Regions from separate parts of the Homo sapiens genome. Here all the other regions are linked to region 2. Evidence: promoter capture Hi-C in 16 types of primary human blood cells and fetal thymus (Javierre and others, 2016). All regions are on one chromosome and are shown on one strand. The core of a region is centred on a gene start or on the middle of the fragment in contact, and the rest is flanking DNA. Distances in the headings are between cores, read along the strand shown. Region 1 has its middle 20 kb from the start of ELOVL3. Region 2 holds the start of PSD (pleckstrin and Sec7 domain containing). Region 3 overlaps SUFU (SUFU negative regulator of hedgehog signaling). Region 4 has its middle 34 kb from the start of NOLC1.

Region 1 (2,945 bases), core at 149-2,648, 210 kb before region 2:
AGTGCAGCAGAAGCAAGACTTTTAATGGCAATCTTGCAAGATCAGATGTCTGGTAGGCAGGCACACCTGGGGCAGTTACAGCAGGTAATTTATCTCCTAGCATGCAAGTCTTTCCCCCAGTTCCTTACTGGTTGAGTACTACAGGGTTACAATCTTCCCAGACGTCACCTAAGTTTCATTATCCCCTTATAAGGTTATACTCTGGTCCCCTTCCCTGCCTATGTTTCAACTTCCCAATAATGAAACTTTCTCACCTTTTATGGGCTGACCCTTCTTCTACATCTTGTTCTCTTATGATGATTTTCTAGGTGCATGAGCCATTCAGTTTGTCACATCTGCAGGGTGGCTGCTAGTACATAGATTTATCATGCCCTGAAAATGAACCATTTAAATGTTTTTTCACAATGGCATATACCCTAAATGCCCTGACTTGATCATTACATATGCTATGCATATAACAAAATACCACATGCACCCCATAAAAATGTACAAATATTATATATCAATAAAAAATTTAAAAAAAAAGAAAAAGGGAGAAAGATGTTGAATCTACAACCACACTTTACAATCTAAGGAAGTAGAAAAAGAAAAACAAATGGTAGCAGAAAGAAAGAAATGAAGACTAGAGCAGAGATAAATGAAATAAGAAATAGAGAAAACAATAGAGAGAATCAATAAAAACCAAAAGTTGTTTGTTTGAAAAGATCAACAAAAGGCTGGGCTCGATGGCTCACGCCTGTAATCCCAGCACTTTGGGAGGCTGAGGTGGGCGGATCACGAGGTCAAGAGATTGAGACCATCCTAGCCAATATGGTGAAACCCCATCTCCACTAAAAATACAAAAATTAGCTGGGCATGGTGGTGTGTGCCTGTAGTCCCAGCTACTTGGGAGGGTGAGGCAGGAGAATCACTTGAACCCGGGAGGTGGAGGTTGCAGTGAGCCAAGATAGTGCCACTGCACTCCAGCCTGGCGACAGAGAGGGACTCTGTCTCAAAAAAAAAAAAAAATGTTCAACAAAATTAACAAACCTTAGGCCAGATGCAGTGGCTTACATCTGTAATCCCAGCACTTTGGGAGGCCAAGGCAGGCAGATCACCTGAACTCAGGAGTTTGATAACAGCCTGATCAACATGGTGAAACCCTGTCTCTACTAAAAATATAAAAATTAGCTGGGCATGGTGGTGCATGCCTGTAATCTCAGCTACTCAGGAGGCTGAGGCAGGAGAATCACTTGAACCCAGGAGGTGGAGGTTACAGTGAGCTAAGATCGTGCCGTTGACTCCACCCTGGGCAACAAGAGTGAAACTCTATCTAAAAAAATAAAAATAAAAATAAAATAAAATTAGTGGTGGTCCACACCTGTAATCCCAGATACTCAAGAGGCTGAGGTGGGAGGATCGCTTGAGCCTGGCTGGTTGAGGCTGCAGTGAGGTGTGCCACTGCACTACAGCCAGGGTGACAAGAGTGAGACCTTGTCTCAAAAAAAAAAAAGAAAAAAAGGCCAGGCGTGGTGGCTCATGCCTGTAATCCCAGCACTTTGGGAGGCCAAGCCGGGTGGATCACCTGAGGTCAGGAGTTCGAGATCAGCCTGGCCAACATGGTGAAACCCCGTTTCTACTAAAAATACAAAAATTAGCCAGGTGTGGTGGCAGGCGCCTGTAATCCCAGCTACTTGGGAAGCCTGAGGCAGGAGAATCACTTGAACCCAGAGGTGGAGGCTGCACTGAGCTGAGATCACGCGATTGCACTCTAGCCTGGGCAACAAGAGTGAAACTCCGTCTCAAAAAAAAAAAAAAAAAAAAAAGAAATGCCTAGAATAGGCAAATTAATACAGACAGAAAGTGGATGAGAGCTTACCAGGAGCCAGAGGGAAGGTGCAATGGTTAGCTGTTGCCTCACAAGTACAGAATTTCTGTTTGGAGTGATGAAAAAGTTTTGGAACTAGTCAGTAGTGATGGTTGTACATTATGAATGTAATTAATGCCACTTAAGAATGGTTAATGTGCACATGTACCCTAAAACTTAAAATATAATTTAAAAAAACAACAAAAAAAAGAATGGTTAAAAGGGGCCAGGCATGGTGGCTCATGCTTGTAGTCCCAGCACTTTGGGAGGCCGAGGCAAGTGGATTACGAGGTCAGGAGATCGAGACCATCCTGGCTAACATGGTGAAACACCGTCTCTACTAAAAATACAAAAAAAGTTAGCCAGGCGTGGTGGTGGGTGCCTGTAGTCCCAGCTACTAGAGAGGCTGAGGCAGGAGAATGGCGTGAACCTGGGAGGCAGAGGTTGCATTGCGCCGAGATCGTGCCGCTGCACTCCAGCCTGGGCGACAGTGCTAGGCTCCGTCTCAAAAAAAAAAAAAAAAAAAAAAGAATGGTTAAAATGGCAAATTTTATGTTATACATTTTCATCACACAAAACAAAGACACTTTGGCAGCTGTAAAGAAACAAGACTAGCCGGGCACAGTGGCTCACACCTGTAATCCCAGCACTTTGGGAGGCCAAGGCAGGTGGATCACGAGTTCAGGAGATTGAGACCATCCTGGCTAACACGGTGAAACCCCGTCTCTACTAAAAATACAAAAAATTAGCCAGGCGTGGTGGCGGGCGCCTGTAGTCCCAGCTACTCGGGAGGCTGAGGCAGGAGAATGGCGTTAACCCGGGAGGTGGAGCTTGCACTGAGCCGAGATTGCACCACTGCACTCCAGCCTGGGCGACAGAGCGAGACTCCGTTTCAAAAAAAAAAAAAAAGAAACTAGACTCTAGGTTAAGGTTACTGAAGTAATCCAGGCTAAAGATCATCTTCTGTTTGTCCTTCCAGGTGCACACTGCCCTCTTCCTTGCTTTGTGCTCCAGGATGCTGACCTGTGTTGACTGATTAGCAGATTCTTAGGCCCTCTGGCTTCTGGTTGAATTTGACCAATGTGGAGCACTGGCAAGT
Region 2 (3,074 bases), core at 441-2,940:
AGGGGGCTGCATGCTCTTCAGACAGGCCTGTAAGAGAGGAAGGGGAGCATGGGGTGAACTGCCAAGGAGTTAGATGGATAGGACAGCAGAGATAGGGAAGGGAAAGTTGGCTAGGGCCTCTGAGTATCAGGGACCTAGCACACCCTGGTAATATGGGATCATTGATCCCACGCCTGGGGACTACTTCCATAGAGGCCTGACGAGAAAAGACTTATACACCCAGTGGGCCCCTGGCTCCTTTCCTTCTGCCTGAGGCCCTGAGCATCACCCTGGGAGGAGAGAGGAAGCAACTTCAAAGTTGAGTGAGCCCGGAGTTCTTATGGCACTTTGGAGCTACTTCTAGAATAGGGGAAGTTGGTACCCCACCCTCTGGAAAAGGGGTGTCAGCCAGCTGTCACCATCATACAGCCCTGTGACCCCTATAGTCTCTCTTATGGAGGCCCCTCACTCAGGGAAGGGAAACTCAGGCCTCCTGGAAGGAGAGGGAAGAGGAACAGGTGTTATATAGGGATGCTGAAGGGCTGAGAGGCACAGCATGGAAGTGGGGAGAAAAGCCTGAGCAGAGGCTCCTACCCCCAATATATACATACTGAGTGGGAAAGGGACATTCTTCTTTTTTTTTTTTTTTTTTGAGATGGAGTTTCGCCCCTGCTGCCCAGGCTGGAGTGGAATGGCGCTATCTCAGCTCACTGCAACCTCCGCCTCCCAAGTTCAAGTGATTCTCCTGCCTCAGACTCCTGAATAGCTTGGATTACAGGCGCTCAGCACTATGCCTGGCTAATTTTTGTATTTTTAGTAGAGATGGAGTTTCACCATGTTGTCCAGGCTAGTTTCAAACTCCTGACCTCAGGGGATCCACCCACTTTGGCCTCCCAAAGTGTTGGGATTACAGGCGTGAGCCACCGCACCCGGCCAGGGACATTCTTTTCTTCATACAGGTACAGACAGGCACCTACACACACACAAACACACACACACACACACACACACACACACGCACACACATACATAAGGACAAATATGTCAGTACACAGTTAAACACATTCATAGGCAACACCCTCTGGCACACACACAGACACACACACACACACACTGCTCAAAGACACACCCTCATGCACTCTCACAGTCATAACAAGTATGTGTGTAATGAAAAGGCACATGCTTGTTTTACACACACACCATCATCAAACAGGAACACACAAAGAGGTACCCAAATATATACACAAGCTGTCATTCTCCAGTGCACACAGAGGTCCAGGTGTATCAGACACTCACAGAGACCTACTGCTCACAGTCACATACACATACAGATGTACACATACAGATGTACACACTCAAGCAGGGACACACACCGTCCCCTCCCCCCCACCTACTGGGGTCTCTTGAGGGGAATCTGCACCCATATTCCTCTCCTCTCCCTCTCTCCCCAGGGGTAAGACAGATCCCGCCCAGGAGAGACCATAACCAGGTAAAGGGGCCTCTGGTGGCAATGCAGGGGAGGGGCAGAGGTCAGGAGTAGCAACCCTGCCAGGCAGGTTCCGGAAGCTCAACGGGGTCCCAGCGCATACCCGGTGCAGCCCCAACTCAATGCCACCTCAGTACTCACCGCTGCTCGCCCAGAGCTGAGACCGAGGAGAGACAGAGGAGAGGCTGGGCCCAGCTGAGCTGTGAAGGCAGCGCGGCTCCCGTTTGCTCCAGGCCCGCCCGCCTCTCAGTCCCTCCCCCTACCCCCTACGCGCCGCTCAGGCAACGCTAATCCCCCCCACCCCCCGCCCTCTCCCAGGGCCCAGAGCCCCGGAGGCTGCCAGCCCCCCTTGTCGCTAGGTCCCCGCTGGGCTCTCCCGCCAACCTAAGACCCGCCCCAGACAAGGAGGAGGGCGCATGGAACCCCTGGTTCTATTCCCCAGACCCTCACGTGCCCCACCCCACTTGTGTCCACGTCTCTCTCGCCCACCGCCCCTTGAGCCACACGTAAGGCCCGGCTGCACACGCGTGTCCCGCTCCAGACCCCACGCGTGTCCCTAGGAGGCTGCCACATGACCTGTTACATGCCACACGCGCTCCCGCCCCCACGAGCACGCGGCCGCGCCAAGCACACGGTATGGGTGTAGACTGGACCCGCCCCCTAAATCCAGGAGACCATCAACTATGGAAAGGAGATCTAGGGAACACCGTCTTGAACCCGCCAGGGGTTTTGAGTCTCGGACCCAGGAGATCCAACCCTGACCACCCTCCCAGGATGCAGCAGGGGGATGTTAAATCAGACTTCAGGAAGAACTTCCTTGCTGCCTGAGTTAGGTGTCGTCACGCCTGCCCAGGGGTAAGAGGTTAGACGGGATGAACTAGGGACCGGAAGACGTGGGGGACCGGCAACCCTTGTGCCCTTGGCCAGGGTAGAAGGGGGCCCTGCTATTTTAAGAAAGAGCCGCTGGAGTTACTATGGCAACTACTCTCTTTGGGAGGGCCAGGGCGGGCAGATGGTGACCTCGGAAGGAAGAAGGGGTCTGTTCGGGCAGTCAGGGGGCGCGAGGACGTGCGAGGCGGGGGCGCGCGGGGCTCACCGCGGGGAGGGGCGGCGCGGACTCCGCGTGGTGCTGAAGGGGACAGCGCCAGATTTGTCGCACTGCGCAGGCGCAGAGGCGCGAACAAAGAGGGGAGGGGGACGAGGCGCGCGGCCGGAGGTGGTGCGCGCTCACGTGGCTCTATCTTTGCAGGGGTCTGTCCTCCCAGCTACCCCCTCCCTAAGCAGGCTGAGGAAGAAGAGATAGCAAGCCCTCACCTAACTTGACCCCTTTCTTGTCTCTCCCCGCTGCTAGCTTCTCCCTTCTCGCTGCCTTGCGGGGTGGGGAAACGTGGAAGGAATTCTGGGAAAACCAGATGTCTGGGTTCTCTATTCCCGTCTGGCTTGATTCTGGACAAGGGGCTTCCTCTCCAGGGCCTCGGTTTCCCCATCTTTAAAATGGACTGATAGCATAGACCTGCCCACCTTTCAGAGGTGCCCGAAGCCTTGACGAGATAACAGATGAGAAGTGGTTTTCGTTGTGATGAGCCAGCTGAAGCGGTTGCACCGGAGC
Region 3 (2,753 bases), core at 1-2,500, 180 kb after region 2:
ATTGCTGGGAGCCCACTGGGCCACTGGGCAACTTAGTGGTGTCGTTGCAGACACAGAGCAGATCCGGGAGACCCTGAGGAGAGGACTCGAGATCAACAGCAAACCTGTCCTTCCACCAATCAACCCTCAGCGGCAGAATGGCCTCGCCCACGACCGGGCCCCGTAAGTTCCCCAGTGTCCCTGGGCTGGAACAAGAGGACGACTTTTTTCTGAAGGGCCTGTCCCTGTGGATTGCATGAGAGAGAACAATGCACATAGCCCTTGCTGGATGGGCCCAGGATCTCTAGGCTTAAGGGCAGGCATGGTCTGGGGCACACAGATCTATCTGTGGGTCATAGGAGAGGGCCTCAGAGGGGACCCAGCAGACCGTGAATATTAACATCAGTAAATATTTACATGAGCCGTGTGAACAGACAGGAGGCCAGGTTGGGGAGAAATCTGACTTGGGGCCTCCCAGCCTTGTGGGAGCCCATTGTGCTGAGCACGGTTCCCTCCTTATCTCAGTCTTGGCCAGAGTTGCCCTTCCTTCCTTCCTGGAGCCTGGTCTCCGGCTGATAGCTGCAACCCTGGGGGCCTCCCTCTCTGGCCAGCCCCATACTGGATGCCTGTGGCTGAGGCCCTTCTTCCTGCCTCTCTTCCCTGGGGCCCAGGGAAGGGAAAGGAAGTCTTTTGCAGGCCTCTGCTGCCTGTCCAGGGGCCCCTGTAGCCCTCCGGAGAGACTGTGGCCACCCTAGAGGTCAGATCCGCTTCCTGCCAACCTCTCTTCCTCTGATAGAGGGGATGAGTGATAGGCAGGGCTGAAGCTGGGCACCCCCCTCTGCCCTTAGTCCCAGGGCAGCTCTAGGGAATAGCTGCTGGCAGGAGATACCTGGGGGCTGGCAGCCCAAAGCAGGAACCTTGCCTGCCAGGGAGGAAATTGCTGTGCCTTGGGCTGAAAGGGAGGTTGATCATCCTGCAAGACCAGGGTGATCTAGCCTTCTTCTATGAAGTCTTTATTACACATTTGCTGTCTGACAAGCTCGGACCTAGGGGGCCATCTGGGGTGCACAGGCTCTTCCTTTGGGAGAACATGAGTGAAACAGTTACCTTTTAATGGTGTGCATCTGGCTGTCGATGTGATTTGTTGGAAATGGCTGCTTCTCTGGATTCTAGCTCTAGTTGCTGATCGTGTTTCCCAGAAGTAGTAATGCTTCAGTGCACTACAGAAAAGACAGGTCCACAGGATCTGGGGTAGTTAGGGAGGGCATCTTGGAGGAGGAAGAACATAGCATCGACCTTGAGGGCACCTTAGAATTTTAATAAGCAGGGGAAGGAACTCAAGAGGATAGCACAGGGGAGGCCTGGCTGGTTAAAGTTGAGGCTGCCTGCTGGGACCTGACTGGAACTAGAGTTACTCTGGGAACAGGGCTGTACTGAGAGTTGAGCTCTTTGGCAAAAGCCTGGAGAAGCCTCCACCGCCACCTCAGAGCAGCTTTTAACTCCGGCCTGTAGGTTTCTCCAGCCAGCTGCCCTGAAGTAGCTGGCTGGAGGCATCCTGATCATCCCCTGGCAGCAGCAGATGGCCACACCAGGTCATACGACATATGGAAGCTCTCTACCTGTGAGTCTGGACCCTGTCCCGGGTCTACACTCCTTCCCATTCCCTGAGCTTGGCTTCTCGCTTTGGGCCTCCTTGGCACTGTTGGCAGGCCAGAGGTACTGGAAGGCCTATAACATGGACACAGTCTCAGTCCAGATGGCTCTCTGCCTCTGGAAGCCTGGGGTTTCTAGGCAGAAGGGCACAAGCTCCTGCAGAGATACAACCTTCTTGCCCCGCTTGTGTATCTGGAACAGGCCTGAGATCTCACTCCCTGGCTTGGGGGCACTTCCAGCTACTGCACCCCTGGACATTGCAATGGGGCACAAGGCTCTGTGCTCCTAGATATACACATAAGCCGAGACTCTCAGCCTACACCCTAACTGGGCAGTCGGGTATTGGTTCTGGCCCAAGGGTTCTCTGTAAACATAAGGCAGAGAGGCTGCAGCTTCTACCCTTTGGCTTGAGTTGGCTGAGATACAGAGAGATGGGTGAGAATAGATTCGAGGTGCCGGGGTTGTCTCCCCTTCCTGAAGGTTTAGTGCCCAGTAAGGTCTCTAAAGCACCAGGACCTGTAGTCTGAGGGGAATAGAATGTTTCCTCTGAGGCTGTCAGTATTGGTTACCAATTTGTTAGCAATTGGTTGAGAAATGGTTTCTCCTCCTCCTTTGCCAAGAACATTCTCCAACACACCCCTCAAGCCTGTCAGACTCAAGTTTCCTGTTATCTCAGGATCGATGATGATGGACTCAGTTCAGATCAGTGAGCGTGACGGTAATATCTGTGCTGCCCACTCTGGGACCTGACCCCATTTCACATACACCACATGGATTGCAACTGAGAAAGCTGACCCAAAATGTGCTGGCACCAGTGTTTGCTCCTCTCCCTGTTGGGGGGCAGCCAGCGTGGGCCATATTTTGTCTGCGGGTCTGATTTCCCCTTAGTCAGGACTTCTGGGCCAGGGAGCTCTTATGCATGGGTCTTCGCGGGTTTGTCTGTGGTCTAAGGAAGATACAGAGCTAAATCAGAGGCTCAGAGCAGCTGATCAAGCCTGGGCAATAGCAGCCGGGTGCCGGCCTACTTGGGGGTGTCAAGCACTTGCTCTTTTCACACTTCAGCAGCAGCTAAAACCTTATTAGTGCTCATTCTGTGCTAGGTAATGTGCCAGCTACTATGT
Region 4 (2,837 bases), core at 119-2,618, 230 kb before region 2:
CTTTATACTTGGGTGAAGAAATAATCTGTACAACAAACCGCTGTGACAAGTACAAATTTGCTTATATAACAAACCTGCACATGTACCCCTGAACTTAAAAGGTAAAAAACAAACAAATGAAATCAACCCAATAGTTCCAGAGACTATTGTTTTGGATAAACATAAAAATTTATCTTTCTGGTCTTAAAGCTTGAAACTTATATTTGCTTTATTTGAGTTCCTTCATTAGTAAATGACCTTCAGGCTTCTCCCCCGCAAAAAAAAAGTATCAATGAACTGAAACTCACCAGATCACTACATCCAGACAATGAGACTTTGGACCCCTCATTCATCATGATTACTTCCTTGGCCCTCCCTACTTCCTGTTTTCTTACACATTACATTTCTTCCCCTCTGTATAAAACCCTTGTTTTAGTTGATCAGGGAGATGGATTTGAGGTTTTGAGCTCCCATCTTCTCAGCTGCAGCACCCGATTAAAGCCTTCTTCCTTGGCAATACTTGTCATCTCAGTCATTGGCTTTCTGTGCAGCGAGCTGTAGGACCTAGACTGAACCCCTGATGTTTCAATAACATATTTTGGTTCCCTGACTGGGAACATGTTGCTTGTGGCTCAGCTGCCATGGGTGGAGTCTCAGAAGCCCTCTTATGCAGCTGCCTGACAAATTTTATTTTATTTTATTATTTTATTTTATTTCCTTTGAGATGGAGTCTCACAGTGTCACCCAGGCTGTAGTGCAGTGGCACAATCTTGGCTCACTGCAACCTCTGCCTCCCAGTGCTATAGGAGTCAGAAGAAATCACTTGGGCAGATAGCCAGGGTACGGGAATCCTCAGTAAGGCTTTTCTTTTTCTTTTTTAATGAAAAGCTGCCCCAAATCATTTTCTAACAAAGAGCAGCCTGAAACCTGGGAGTTTGCAAGGGTGAATGCCAGCAGGAACTAAGGAGTAGACATGTTCAAGATAGCGACTTCATCTTCCCTTCTCTGCCAGTCATGTGTACTGTAAGGAGCAGACCAGATGGTGTCGATCACCTCGCCTCTACTAAAAATATAAAAATTAGCTGGGCGTGGTGGTGGGCGCCTATAGTCCCAGCTGCTCAGGCGGCTGAGGCAGGAGAATTGCTTGAACCGGGGAGTCAGAAGTTGCAGCGAGCTGAGATCGCACCATTGCACTCCAGCCTGGATAACGAGAGCAAAACTCTGTCTCAAAAAAAAAAAAAAAAAAAAAGAAAAAGAAAAAAAAAACAGATGGTGTCGATCAACTGGAAAGGCCATTTGCGTAACAAGATTAGGGTGGGGCAACCAGCCTTTCCTGAGCACTATGTAAACGTCATAGCTGATCAAACCAATCTGTGAGCCCTATGTAAATCAAGACACATTAAAACAGTCCACACTAAATCAGACACTGCCTCCTCAAACTGGTGTCTTCACTACCAGCCAGTCCTTTCCATTCGGAGACCTCTTCTTCTATAGAGGAAGCTATTTCTCTTTTCTCTTCTACCTATTAAACCTCTGCTCCTAAACCCCTTGTGTGTGTCTGTGTCCTAAATTTTCCTGGCCTGTGACAATGATAAATATATACCTGAGGGCATATACCCCAGACAATGTAGCCACTTCACCAGGTTCAAGTTATTCTCCTGCCTCAGCCTCCCCAGTAGCTGGACTACAGGCATGCACCATGCCCATCTATTGACCAATATCAGCTGGAAGTGAGTTTCAGTTTCTCTCTGGCCCCACCATGGTCAGCCCCAACCATCCTCCTGATTGCCTTGGAAGAATAGCCTTCGAAATTGGACATCTGCATCCAGATAGGTGAGTATCCTTTGTGGGCCCAGACAGCAGGATTTGCTCCTCTCAATTTGGGAAATTTTTAAAAGAATTTTCATTTGCAGGTTGAACAAGCCCAACTGACTGAGGGAGGGAAACACCCTGACTGTTTTTATGTGGACACTCTTGGGGGCTAGTTTATAATTGTATGTTGTGTCTGGGCAAGTGAGTGCCTCGTGTGTGTACCAGACAGCGGGATCAGTTCCTCTCAATTTGGGAAATTTCCTAAGGAATTTTTGTTTGCATTTGATCAAGCCCAACCAATGAAGAGAGGAAGCACCCTGACTGTTTGAGTTTGGACACTCTTGGGGCTTGTTTTTTGCTGCAGCAGTTGGATTGTGTTTTGGTGATCATTTGTGTGTGTTTTATATAGTCATGAGAAGTTAGAATTCGGTAAACTGATATTCATTTGCAATACTGTTGGCCCCAGTGTTGTTTGGAATCTGGCGTTTGCTGTTTGGAATCTGGAGTTTGCTGCTGAATGGGAAAGTGGGATGGAGTTGTGTGTATCCAGGCTTTTGTGCTGCTGTTCTAAGCAAGGTTGGGCCTGGCAGGTATGTGATGTTCTCCTTTGTTGCTGTTTGACCCCAATGTTCTTTGGAGTCTGAGGAGGTTTGGCCTTTAAAAATCAAACTGCCATGGAAACTACTATACCCAAAATTTTGATTCACAGCCTTCACTGAATTACCTACTGGGACAAAGTGTAACCATGTAAAACCAGTAAGCTTGTATTGCTATCTCATAGCTATAGTTCCAAGGTAAAAGCTATTGGATCTTTGTTTATGTGTGTATATTCATGTTTAGATGTGTTTATTTGTATGTACCCTTATTGGTATATGTTGTGTCTACCAAATTGGCTTATAAGTAAAACAGCACTCATAAATTAAATAAGTCAAAGCAATTTTCAAGTTCGTGTGAGTTAAGTAAATTTTTTCGAAACCAGCTGGCTGTAAAATTATTGGTAAAATGAAAATAAAAATGTCTTCAAAATTGTGAGCATACATTTTTGT

Evidence for each region. Contacts are between HindIII fragments. The CHiCAGO score rates a contact against its expected background, and 5 or more counts as called.
Region 1: a fragment that was not itself captured here is called in contact with the fragment with the promoter of PSD in region 2 in 1 of 17 cell types (endothelial precursors); the score reaches 6.0 in endothelial precursors.
Region 3: a fragment that was not itself captured here is called in contact with the fragment with the promoter of PSD in region 2 in 2 of 17 cell types (megakaryocytes and M1 macrophages); the score reaches 6.0 in megakaryocytes.
Region 4: a fragment that was not itself captured here is called in contact with the fragment with the promoter of PSD in region 2 in 1 of 17 cell types (endothelial precursors); the score reaches 6.4 in endothelial precursors.

Annotation. Positions count from the first base shown.
Region 1 is chr10:102,204,448-102,207,392 of GRCh38, forward strand. No RefSeq gene overlaps it. Among named protein-coding and RNA genes, the nearest start is that of ELOVL3, 20 kb to the right of the region's middle. The HindIII fragment of the contact is 4,323 bases long and covers 1-2,945 here.
Region 2 is chr10:102,417,095-102,420,168 of GRCh38, forward strand. It overlaps PSD (pleckstrin and Sec7 domain containing), which reads right to left and starts at 1,691. Exons shown (of 17, transcript NM_002779.5): 1 at 1,607-1,691; 2 at 1-27. The HindIII fragment of the contact is 10,611 bases long and covers 1-3,074 here.
Region 3 is chr10:102,599,383-102,602,135 of GRCh38, forward strand. It overlaps SUFU (SUFU negative regulator of hedgehog signaling), which reads left to right. Exons shown (of 12, transcript NM_016169.4): 8 at 51-162. Among named protein-coding and RNA genes, the nearest start is that of TRIM8-DT, 42 kb to the right of the region's middle. RefSeq lists an enhancer at 370-1,120. The HindIII fragment of the contact is 3,650 bases long and covers 1-2,753 here.
Region 4 is chr10:102,185,000-102,187,836 of GRCh38, forward strand. No RefSeq gene overlaps it. Among named protein-coding and RNA genes, the nearest start is that of NOLC1, 34 kb to the left of the region's middle. The HindIII fragment of the contact is 2,363 bases long and covers 188-2,550 here.